Linked DNA regions of Homo sapiens: region 1 is linked to region 2. Evidence: promoter capture Hi-C in human tissues and cell types (Jung and others, 2019). All regions are on one chromosome and are shown on one strand. Each heading gives the region's core, a stretch centred on a gene start or on the middle of the fragment in contact. The rest is flanking DNA. Distances are from core to core; before and after follow the strand shown.

Region 1 (5,110 bases), core at 1,504-4,003, 59 kb after region 2:
ACTAAAGAGATAATTGGTAAGCAAGACTCCATTAAAATTTAAAAACCTCTGCTCTGCAAAAGACAATGTTAAGAGAATGAGACCAGCAACAGACTGGGAGAATATACATGCAAAAGACACATCTGAAAAAGGACTATTATTCCAAATATACAAGGAACTCTTAAAACTCAACAGTAAGAAAATAACCCTATTTAAAAATGGGGCCAGGCATGGTGGCTTAGGCCTATTATCCCAGGGGAGGCCGAGGCAGGCGGATCACTTGAGGTCAGGGGTTTGAGGCCAGCCTGGCCAACATGGTGAAACCCTGTCTCTACTAAAAATACAAAAATTAGCCGGGCGTGGTGGAAGGCACCTGTAATCCCAGCTACTTGGTACCACTGCACTCCAGCCTGAGTGAGACTTTGTCTCAAAAAAAAGGGCAAAAGACCTGAACAGACACCTCACCAAAGAAGGTATACAGATGGCAAATAAATATGAAAAGATGTTCAACATCATATGTCATTAGGGAAATGCAAATTAAAACAATGAGCTACCATGACATACCTATTAGAATGGCCAAAATCCAAAACACTGAGAACACCAAATTATGGAGAGGATGTAGAGCAACAAAAGCTGATTCATCGCTGGTGGGAATGCAAAATGGTACACCTGCTTGGGAAGACAGTGTGGCCGTTTCTTACGAAACTAGACACAGTCACCATATGATCCACCAATCGTGGATTGTTTCTTGGTATTTACCCAAGTGAGTCTGAAAACTGATGTCCATACAAAAACCCGCACCACTGAGGTTGTGCCACTGCACTCCAGCCTGGGTGACAGAGCAAGACTCTGCCTCAAACAAAAAAAGAAAAAATACATAGAGAAAACTTAAATGTACATTACTAAGTGGAAAAAAAAAAAGCCTAACTGAAAAGGCTACATACCATGATTCCAACTATATGACATACTGGAAAAGGGAAAACTCTGGAGACAGTAAAAATAATCGGTGGTTGAAGGTAGGGAGGGCTGAATAGGTGAAGCATAGGGAATTTTTTATGGCCATGACTCTATTCCGTATGGTGCTATGATGGAGGATAGATGTCATTACACATTTGTCCCAATCCATAGAATGTATAGCACGACGAGTGGATCTCAATGTTAACTATGGACTTTGGGTGATAATGATGCATCAGTGTAGGTTCATTGATTGTAACAAATGAATCACTCTAGTGGGGTGGTAAGTAGTAGTAGAGGCTGTGCCTATGTAGGGGTAGGAGGTATATGGGAAACCTCTATACTTGCCATTCAATTTTGCTATGAACCTAAAACTGCTCTAAAAAATAAGGCCTATTAAAGAAAATATCCTGCAGTATGGCAGAAGCTAAACACTAGTAGGGAAATCATTAAACCTGAGAAGAGGCAGATGACAGACAGTGTTTGGGTGATGGAATGAAGAACAGAGGGAGGCCAGAGGGAATCCTACAGAAGAAGGCCTGGCCACAGCACGTGTGTAGGTAGCGTTCGCTCCCCGCCGGCACAGAACTGGCGCAGAAACAAGACTCAGTGTAAAAGAGGTTTCTGTCCCCCTGCACCATCCTGAAGCTTCATGCAGCTAAAAGCAAGGTCCCTGGGGAAAAAATGTCCCTGCCATAGGATATGTCTGCAACAATCTAGGCGGGCAGATTTAAAATTCAGAGAAAATCTGAGTAGAATTTTATGACCACAGACAACAGAGAAGAGTGTTCAAGAGGATTGGGAGGCTTTAATTAATTCTAAGTGCTCAAACTCAAGTGACCTTGAAGAAGAAATAGTAAAGCTCTGTTTGATTAAATCCAGGCATCCAATAAACTCTTGACCTGCCCTGATGCTAATTCTGGAGATAGGGAAACTGAGTCTGAATTTGTTAAAGATTCCCTGTTTGGTAAGTTGAGGCAGGGCTTAAATCATTGTGTGACTCCCAACTCCTCCTTCTATCCTACCCCACCCCATACTCCTCATTTGAAATGAAGAGAACCTGGCCGGGTGCAGTGGCTCACGCCTGTAATCCCAGCACTTTGGGAGGTCAAGGTGGGCGGATCACGAGATCGGGGGATTGAGACCATCCTGGCTAACACGGTGAAAACTCATCTCTACTAAAAATATAAAAAATTAGCTGGGCATGGTGGCAAGTGCCTGTAGTCCCAGCTACTCGGGAGGCTGAGGCAGGAGAATGGGCATGAACCCGGGCGGTGGAGCTTGCAGTGAGCCAAGATCGCGCCACTGCACTCCAGCCTGGGCAACAAAGCGAGACTCTGACTCAAAAAAAAAAGAAAAGAAATGAAGAGAACCTGATGAACACAAGTGGTAAAGGATGGATCTCAGCCCAGAATCTCAGGATGAGACTAAGTTGATCGCCCAGTGCCCTGGGCCAAAGGCTACTTTGTAAGATGAAGGCTCACCTAGAACTCAAGTGACCATTCAGAGGTTAGCATCATCTTAGTGGGGGAAATGGTGGTGAGAGGATGACACATAGATGCAGTGTGTTTCTGTTTTTTCCTTATGCAATCTGAAAATAACTTCATGAAGCCGAGAAGGAAGATGTGAACAGTCAAGCATCCTAATCACATTTATTCTCAACTAATGTGTGCAGACGTCTGTTTCTCGGTGGTTCTCAATACTGACCACACATTAGTAACCTAGGGAGGTTTTTTTAAAGAACAGATGCCCAAGTTTGCTTCCTCTAAATTAGAGATTCTCTTACCTTGCTAACTTAGAAAGGTTAGGCTTCTTCCTCTTGCCAACAATGCTTCATTTGCCCAGACTTGCAGGGACAGTGGCAGGTCCAAAATCTCAATAGACAGGCGGATTAGTGTCCACAGTCTGGTTGTTGGAGTGTTTGTGCATGTCTGCAGGAGCTCTATTTTTCTAGCATTTGCATAATGTTAACATATTAATTGTCAAGGGGTAAAGGGGTAGAAGAGCAGGACTCAGGCCTGTGGCTTAGGAAATCAACCAGAGGTTCCACCACTCACCTCTTGAAAAAACTGAAGCTCACCCTACCCCGTAGTAGAAACTTGCCAGTCTGGATGAAAACCTAAATTGATCTCAAATGCAGTATGGCAAACGCCATTTAACTTCTTCCTAAGTGTCTTCTTATAACACAGTGTCGCCTTTGTGGATACACCAGGCAGCATCCTGAAATCCTTGCATCTGTTTTTTATAGTTTGTATTCTTCCTCCTCAGTGGGTATTACCTGTCTGGCCATTGTCTACCAGAAACCCTCTACTCTGATGCTTCTAAGCTGTTGCAAAGTGGAAAAGCAGTTGTGTAACCACATGAGAAATGTGTCACATGAACACTGAGAAGCTCCCAATAAGAGGTTCTACCTGATGAATAAACTGCAAGCAGCTTGGATGTTCTAGTGCTGATTTTGTCTGCTCAGACACATCCTTGGTTCGTGTTGATACATTCCAGACACTGAGGCTACAACTGAGAGCCCCAGATAAAAGAACTTCAATCCAACATTAATTGCCATCGCTCCCATTTTATAAGGACCAACAGCATCAGGGAGGTCAAAAGACATCTTTGTCACTAAAATCCACAATTCAATGGCACTGGCTGAGCCCCGTCAGGGTTCTTAGGTGTCTTTGCAAAGCTCATTTCAGAATGTTAGGCATGTTCAAAGAATTACCAAAAAGCTTAGCCATGATAAGAGTTTTTTAAAAATTTAACTACAGAAGCCCAAGAAGATGATAAAATAATATGATTTTGACCCAACATTTTAAAATACCAGTTTTAGGTAAGGGGAAAAAAATCCATTTTTTCTTAAGAAAACAATGTATTAAAGGGCACAAGAGAATAATGTTTTTAGAAAGTATTCTGTAAATCTTTTTTTCTTTCACTTTGCTGATTTCAACAGGATGAGGTCCATTATTGTTGCAATAGCCTATTTTAGTAGAGAGAAAGGATTAAAGGGCAAGCTGTTCCCAGCGGATCACGCCTGCTGGTCCTTACCAAGCCAGGCGCTCACTCAGGAAAATTAACCATACAGGCGTGACACAGGTTTACACTGAAAGGGAAAACATGAGCAACAATAGGGAACGTCTACCGAGCGGATACTGTGGACATGTCAAGGACCATGCGGCTTATTGCTCATGACAGCCCCATTTGGTAAGTGCAGTTCTTATCCTCCATCTGAGGCTGAGGGAAGTTAAGTAACTCACTGGAGGCCACATCGGTGGTTAAGTGACTTTTAGGGCCACTAAATTCTTAGATCAGAATTGAACAAACGTAAAAGAATGAGGTAGATTTGTAAGTCCTGATTGAAAGGATGTCAACATCATTGTATTTGGTGAAAAGAGAACATTTTTGTAAAACTGAAGAGTGCATTTTAAAACATCACTGGCCTCCTTTTGACTCCTCTAACATTTCACTGTGCAAAGTGGGCACCAGCAGCATGAGCATCCTCTGGGAGCATGTTAGAAGTGCGTAGTCAGGCTCACCCCAAACCTCCTGAGTCCACATCAGCAGTGAAGAAGACAGGTGGCTGTGTACTCCTTAAAGTGTGAGAACCCTCTAGCCCGCCAACAGCGCTCCCTTTTCGGGGCCTCTGCACTTGGCTATAATGCGCTTCCCGGGATTTACGTGCTCCACTCCCTCTCATTTCTTTGAACTCTGCTTAATGTCACCTCCTTGGAGGGGTCTCCTCTGACTTCCATCTGAAAAGCAGTGTCCTCTGTCACCCTCTATCTGCTTAACATGCTTTATCTTTCTTCACAGCAATGACCAGTACCTGAAATCACAGGCTCGTGTGTTATCTGTTCCTCCTATTCCAGTGTGAGCTCCGTCAGGGCTGGGACTTTGTACCTCCAGCACATCAGACAGTGGCTGGGTAAAAGTGCTTGATAAATACTTGAAAGAGGGTCTACTTTCTCTGCAGGACTATATATAGTGCAAATATCTAATTTAATGGTGGGTATCCCTGGGAAGTAGAAAGGGAAGACTGAAGAAAGAGACCTTTTGTAGTTTTTGCAATTTTCAACTTTTACCCTTCTGGAGTTTTTGCAACTTTTCAGAGGAGTATGCACCATTTTTAATAATTAAACACTTTTCAAATAATTTAACAAACTATCTCAAGATATATCATACCACA
Region 2 (5,101 bases), core at 1,356-3,855:
CTCAGCTAGAAGAAGCAATTTACTTACCAAGCCTGTAAATGTGTGCTGACAGCATCCTCATGGACAGCAGCATGTAGCTTTGGTTTTATATAATTAAAACTAAACTACATGTCTTTGGTGATTGAAGAGGATAAGCATTTTCTTGAGATAACTGAAAGCTAAATTTGAAGTGTAACATCATTCATCCTTGTCAATGCTCATATTCCAACAGAGGGCATGTTACTCAAAGCAAACGTTTTCTCAACCGCAAGGTAATTTTAGGCTAAAATGTGAGTTTCTACTTCACCTCCCTCTTTCCCTTGCTCCTCCTCAACTCTGCACAGTTATCAAAGGGAGAGAAAAAAGTGCATTTGAGAATAAATATGAAAATGGTATTTGGGGTCACCACTGGTTGGTATTCTTTTGGGTTAGGAATGCTCAAGTACCACTATGAAGGGCAATTAAACGGCAGACACCCTAAATACCTGGAGACAGATGTTCTGCGGAACTACAGCAAATCAAGATTGGCTTGACTTGCACCAGAAATAACACGATGCCACTCCCCAGTTAACTCTATTGTCCTCCTTTGGGCCTGCAAGCGTTACCTAATAATAAGCTTTATTAGTGCAATAATATAGATGAGTACAAAGAGATTGGGAATCCAGAACTTTCATTCCATCTTTCCAGCCCCATTGGCTGGTGGCTGGGCCAGATAATGGCCACTTGATCTAAGCTCCCAGAAGCCCTCTTTAAGAAGCATCAATTCTAAGTTTGGATTCTTCAACACCTGCTAAGCATCCTTCATTCTTGAAATGGAGGGTTTTTCAGCTTCACCCATTCCAACCTCTCCTCTCCACACCAGACTGCTGGGTTCCTCCTGTCCCTCAGCGATCACACATCCTCTCATCTCTGGAACTGTCAAGACTTGGCAAATGATTATTTTAGCAACAGTGGAAACCACTCTATTGCAGCCCAAAGATCTCGACTTCCCTCACAAAAGCACACACGACACAGACGAGCTGAGGAAGCAACAGTTCCAGTCCCACTCCTTCCCCCAAATTATTTATCTTCTATCAAGATTTGTGAATCAGCCGATATATGAATTAGCAAGTACTTGTTCAACACACCGTTCCCCAGCGCCCGTTCTAAGTAGATGGCTAAGGAAATACACACACACACACACACACAGAGACACACACACACAGAGACACACACACATACACACTCTTAAATCTCTTCAGGGATTAACCAGCTTCCCAAGAAGCTGGTTGGGGTTGTTGTAGTTGGCTTTTGTGGGGCGGGTAGGTGGGGGAGTGAGGAAGTTGGACGCTCTGCGTTTGCTGGAAGCTATGCTCGGCGACGCCGAGAGCCCTGGGGTGATGCTGGGTGAGCCGAGGCTGCCAGGCGCTTCCTGCCTCCCAGCTGAGCGAAAGCAGCGAGTGCGCGCAGGGCGGAATCCTGACCCCACCCGCAGGCGCCCTCCGCACCCGCAGCGCGGCCGTCCTCTCCGCCTGGGTTCTAGGGGCCATGGCGAGGGAGCCTCCAAGCCGGTGCCTAGAGAGCAGGACCTGTTGCAGAGGGAATGGGAAAGGAGCGAGGGGAAAGGGCGAAGTCGTGGGTCAAGAAGGGCGGAGAAAGAGCGGAGCTCAGAGGGGCAGAGAGATCGGGATGAGCTTGGAGAGCAGGCGAGATTCCCCAAGCTCAGAGCCTGCTGGCTGGAAAGAGGGAGGGCAAAAGGGCAGGGAAAAGAATATCGCTGCAAAGCGAAGAGAAGGACTGAGGAAACTCCAGAGAGTCACAGACAGGCGGGATTCAGGGCACTGCGCACTGAACAGATGTGAAACCCGGGGCGGGAGCGCTGCACCCTAGGTCCCCACACCTGTGGCTTTGCGGGGAGCATAGGCGCAGCTTAGATTTCAGCCCATGCCAGTCGCTGTTGAGGCCACCGAGCTGGACCAGGGTTCTGAGATGCTTTCAAGGGACAACGCTCCCCAAGATTATTCTAGGAGAGTACCGTGCCAGACAGGTTGAGACTAGGCGGACAAAAGGAGATGTAGGATGGGCGCAGAGGGAAGGTGATCTGCACCGGGGTTGGCTGTTGGGAGCTCGGGTGCCCTGGGGAAGACAGGCTGGAAGCGAGCGGGAAAGGATCAGCGGACCAGCCTGCGGCTGACTAGGGACTCATGGGCTCCCTAGAATGGGGAAAGGTGGGGTGGAGTTTTAGGAGAACGGGGAAGGTGTTTGCCGATAGAAAGGTCACAACAAACCCAGCTCCCAAAGCTGGGCCAGGGAAACGCAAAGAAATGGGGAGACAGGTCCCCTCCGGCTGGCTGATCCAGAGGAGGACAAGCGCGCGGCTCCCGCGGCCAGGACACTCACCCACCGCCCAGTGGTTGCCGCGCGGGTACATCTTGGTCAGCACGGTCCCTCCGCCCGCAGGCAGCGGGACCGCTCGCCCCCGGGGCGCCAGGCAGAGGACCAGCGCCAGCAGGACCAGCGGGAGCTCACGGCCGCGCATGGTCCCGACGGGAAGCCCTTGGAGCGCGCCGGAGAGGCTGGGAAGAGCAGAGACTGGTGACCCGGACCTCGGAGGAGCTCCGCCGCCGCAGCCGCTGGTGCTACTGCTGCGGCCTCCACTAGGGCCCCTACTTTATATGGAAGCCCGGGCGGGGGGGCTGGGGGGCTCTTCTATCGCGGACCAGAGCGCTCTGACGTCTCCCTATAGCTAACCGGGGCGCTGGGACGCCCGGTCCGGAAAACCATCCATCTCCCCGCCGAGTGATGAAAAGGCTGAGTGTACATTGCCCCCTCTTTTTTCCTCGTAGCCCCGTCCGCCTTCCCCACATCGGATTAATTCCTCCGGTCCTCGACGCCTTCCATCCAACACAATTTAGTGAACTCCTCCCTCTCCAGGCTCGCCGGCGCCTCCAGCCTTAGCTGCCTTGAGAGTCCTGGAGAGGGCGACCCCGCTGCCTGATCTGGGCCGGGAGGGGTGGGGGGTGTAGCTGGAGACGGGTGAGCTCTAAAGATGGATGGGCTTTGCTGGAGGGATTTGGAACCACCATTTGAAGGCCTTCTGATTCTCCAGACCTTTCTCTTCGTAGGCCACATCTTTGCTGTCCCAGCCCATAGATTTTGGAACCTTGCCTCCTTGCAGATCTCTCTCTCTTTTTCTGGACCTTGCCTCTTTCTTGCAGATCTCCTCCCCTCCTCTCCCCTCCTCTCCCCTCCTCTCCCCTCCCTTCCCCTCCTCTCCCCTCCTCTCCCCTCCCTTCCCCTCCTCTCCACTCCCATACCCTCCCCTCCCCTCCACTCCCCTTCTCTCTTCTCCTCCCCTTCCCATCCCTCTCTCTCTCCCCTCCTCCCCAATCTCTCTCTCTCTCTGTCTCTCTCTCCCCCTCTGCTGCCCTCCACCTTAAGGTTAAGGGCAGTATCCTTAACCCACCTGGTATTCCCAGGCAGCTCTGCCCACTTGTATGGCAAGACAGAAGATAGCTGGCCCTTTTCACAAGCATGCAACTTCCATGGAATAGAGAAAGAAACTGCTTTATGCCAGTTTCCCTAGGCTGCCTCTACCTGAAAGCTCAAACTGTCCCTAAACTGCCACATACACACCCCTCTAGAGTTGCTCAACGTTCCTCTGCTCCTTCTGTTCTCAGATCTAAAGAATGGTCACCAGCCCAATCCCCGAGGTTCTAAATACCATGGATACAAAGGGGATCAGCACCATAGCAATGCAACAATAAATAGAAGCTGGTAGGATGCTGTTGCCCACGTTTTGGCTGCCAGAGTTGGCCGTGTGGTTGGAATAGGTGAGGTCTATTCCTCCTCAAATGCTTGTTAATTGCCTCCCTGTTGGGTCTTTAGTGTTCCATGTCAACATGGTGTTGATATTGATATATTGATATTGATAAAGTTGAAAACATACACTTGTGTCTGAGTATCTGCTGATTCAATACATTCTTCTTCTTCTTTTTTTTTTTTTTTTTTTTTTGAGACAGAGTCTTGCTCTGTCACCCAGACTGGAGTGCAATGGCGTAATCTGGGCTCACTGCAACCTCTGCCTTCCCGGCTCAAGTGATTCTCCTGTCTCCGCCTGTGGAGTAGCTGACATCACAGGCATGCACCACCACGTCTGGCTAATTTTGTATTTTTAGTAGAGATGAGTTTTCACCATGTTGGCCAGGCTGGTCTTGAACTTCTGACCTCAAGTGAGCCGTGGCCTCCCAAAGTGCTGGGATTACAGGCATGAGCCACTGTGCTTGGTGTTCAATATATTCTTAAGTGATTACACACTCACATTGCATGACTGAGTACTCTTGGATCTGAAGAGTATTTTCATGCATGTGTCTGGGTCTAAGAGAAAAAAAGTCAATTTTAAGATCATTAATAGTTTGGTAGCCAACCAAATACAATAATACTATCCTCAGTGAGTGAGCTAAGTGAAAATCAAAAGAAAAAGGTCCACAGACTGGCCTGGGCTCCATCCCTCCCGGGTTCCCAGCCTCTCTGCATTCCGTTCCCAGGCTCTGTCAGTAGGCAAGTGTTCCATTGGCAGGCAACTGATCATCCCTAGGCGTGCTGCCTCCCACACAGTGAGCTTGCTTCAACACAGGGACTTGGTATTGTTCCTCTGTGTGTCTGCAGAGCACCTGGATCATAGTGGTGCTTGATAAGTATTTGGCGAATGAACAACAAACCTAAGAAATGCCCAGGTCTAAGAAATGCCTTCTGCAACCGTGGATCTTTGGAGGCGCATTAAACCCTTATCTCTCCAAATTAAGTTGTAGAAAAATGCTCTTTCTCTTTAGTTTAACCAAGATTATTTTAGAATCTTTCAAATGAAATCCTCCACCTCCTCCCATCCCCATGAAACTAAGGGGAAGCCACTGTAAAGACATTCAAGTGTAGAAATAATTGTTTAGAAAGCACAACACTTCTGCTAATTCAGGCAACACTGTTTCTTGTGTCCATTACACGCCAGGAGATACCTAGGCCCCTCCATTCACCTTAGCTCTTGCTCCAAGGCCACCCCAGCCTACAGGTTTCCTGCCTGCAGACTACGGCTGGGCCACATGACTTGCTGTAGCACCCTGTAAGGACAGCACCCATGTCATCTGGC

The links. The method cuts DNA at HindIII sites, captures the fragments that hold promoters and counts their contacts. A contact is called where the count stands out against the background at its distance.
Region 1: a contact is called between a fragment that was not itself captured here and the fragment with the promoter of GRP in region 2, in 1 of the 25 tissues and cell types used here (liver).

Annotation. Positions count from the first base shown.
Region 1 is chr18:59,159,154-59,164,263 of GRCh38, reverse strand. No RefSeq gene overlaps it. Among named protein-coding and RNA genes, the nearest start is that of SEC11C, 22 kb to the right of the region's middle. The HindIII fragment of the contact is 5,175 bases long and covers 166-5,110 here.
Region 2 is chr18:59,217,662-59,222,762 of GRCh38, reverse strand. GRP (gastrin releasing peptide) reads right to left here and starts at 2,605. Exons shown (of 3, transcript NM_002091.5): 1 at 2,359-2,605. The coding sequence starts at 2,497. RefSeq lists an enhancer at 2,771-3,385. The HindIII fragment of the contact is 15,677 bases long and covers 1-5,101 here.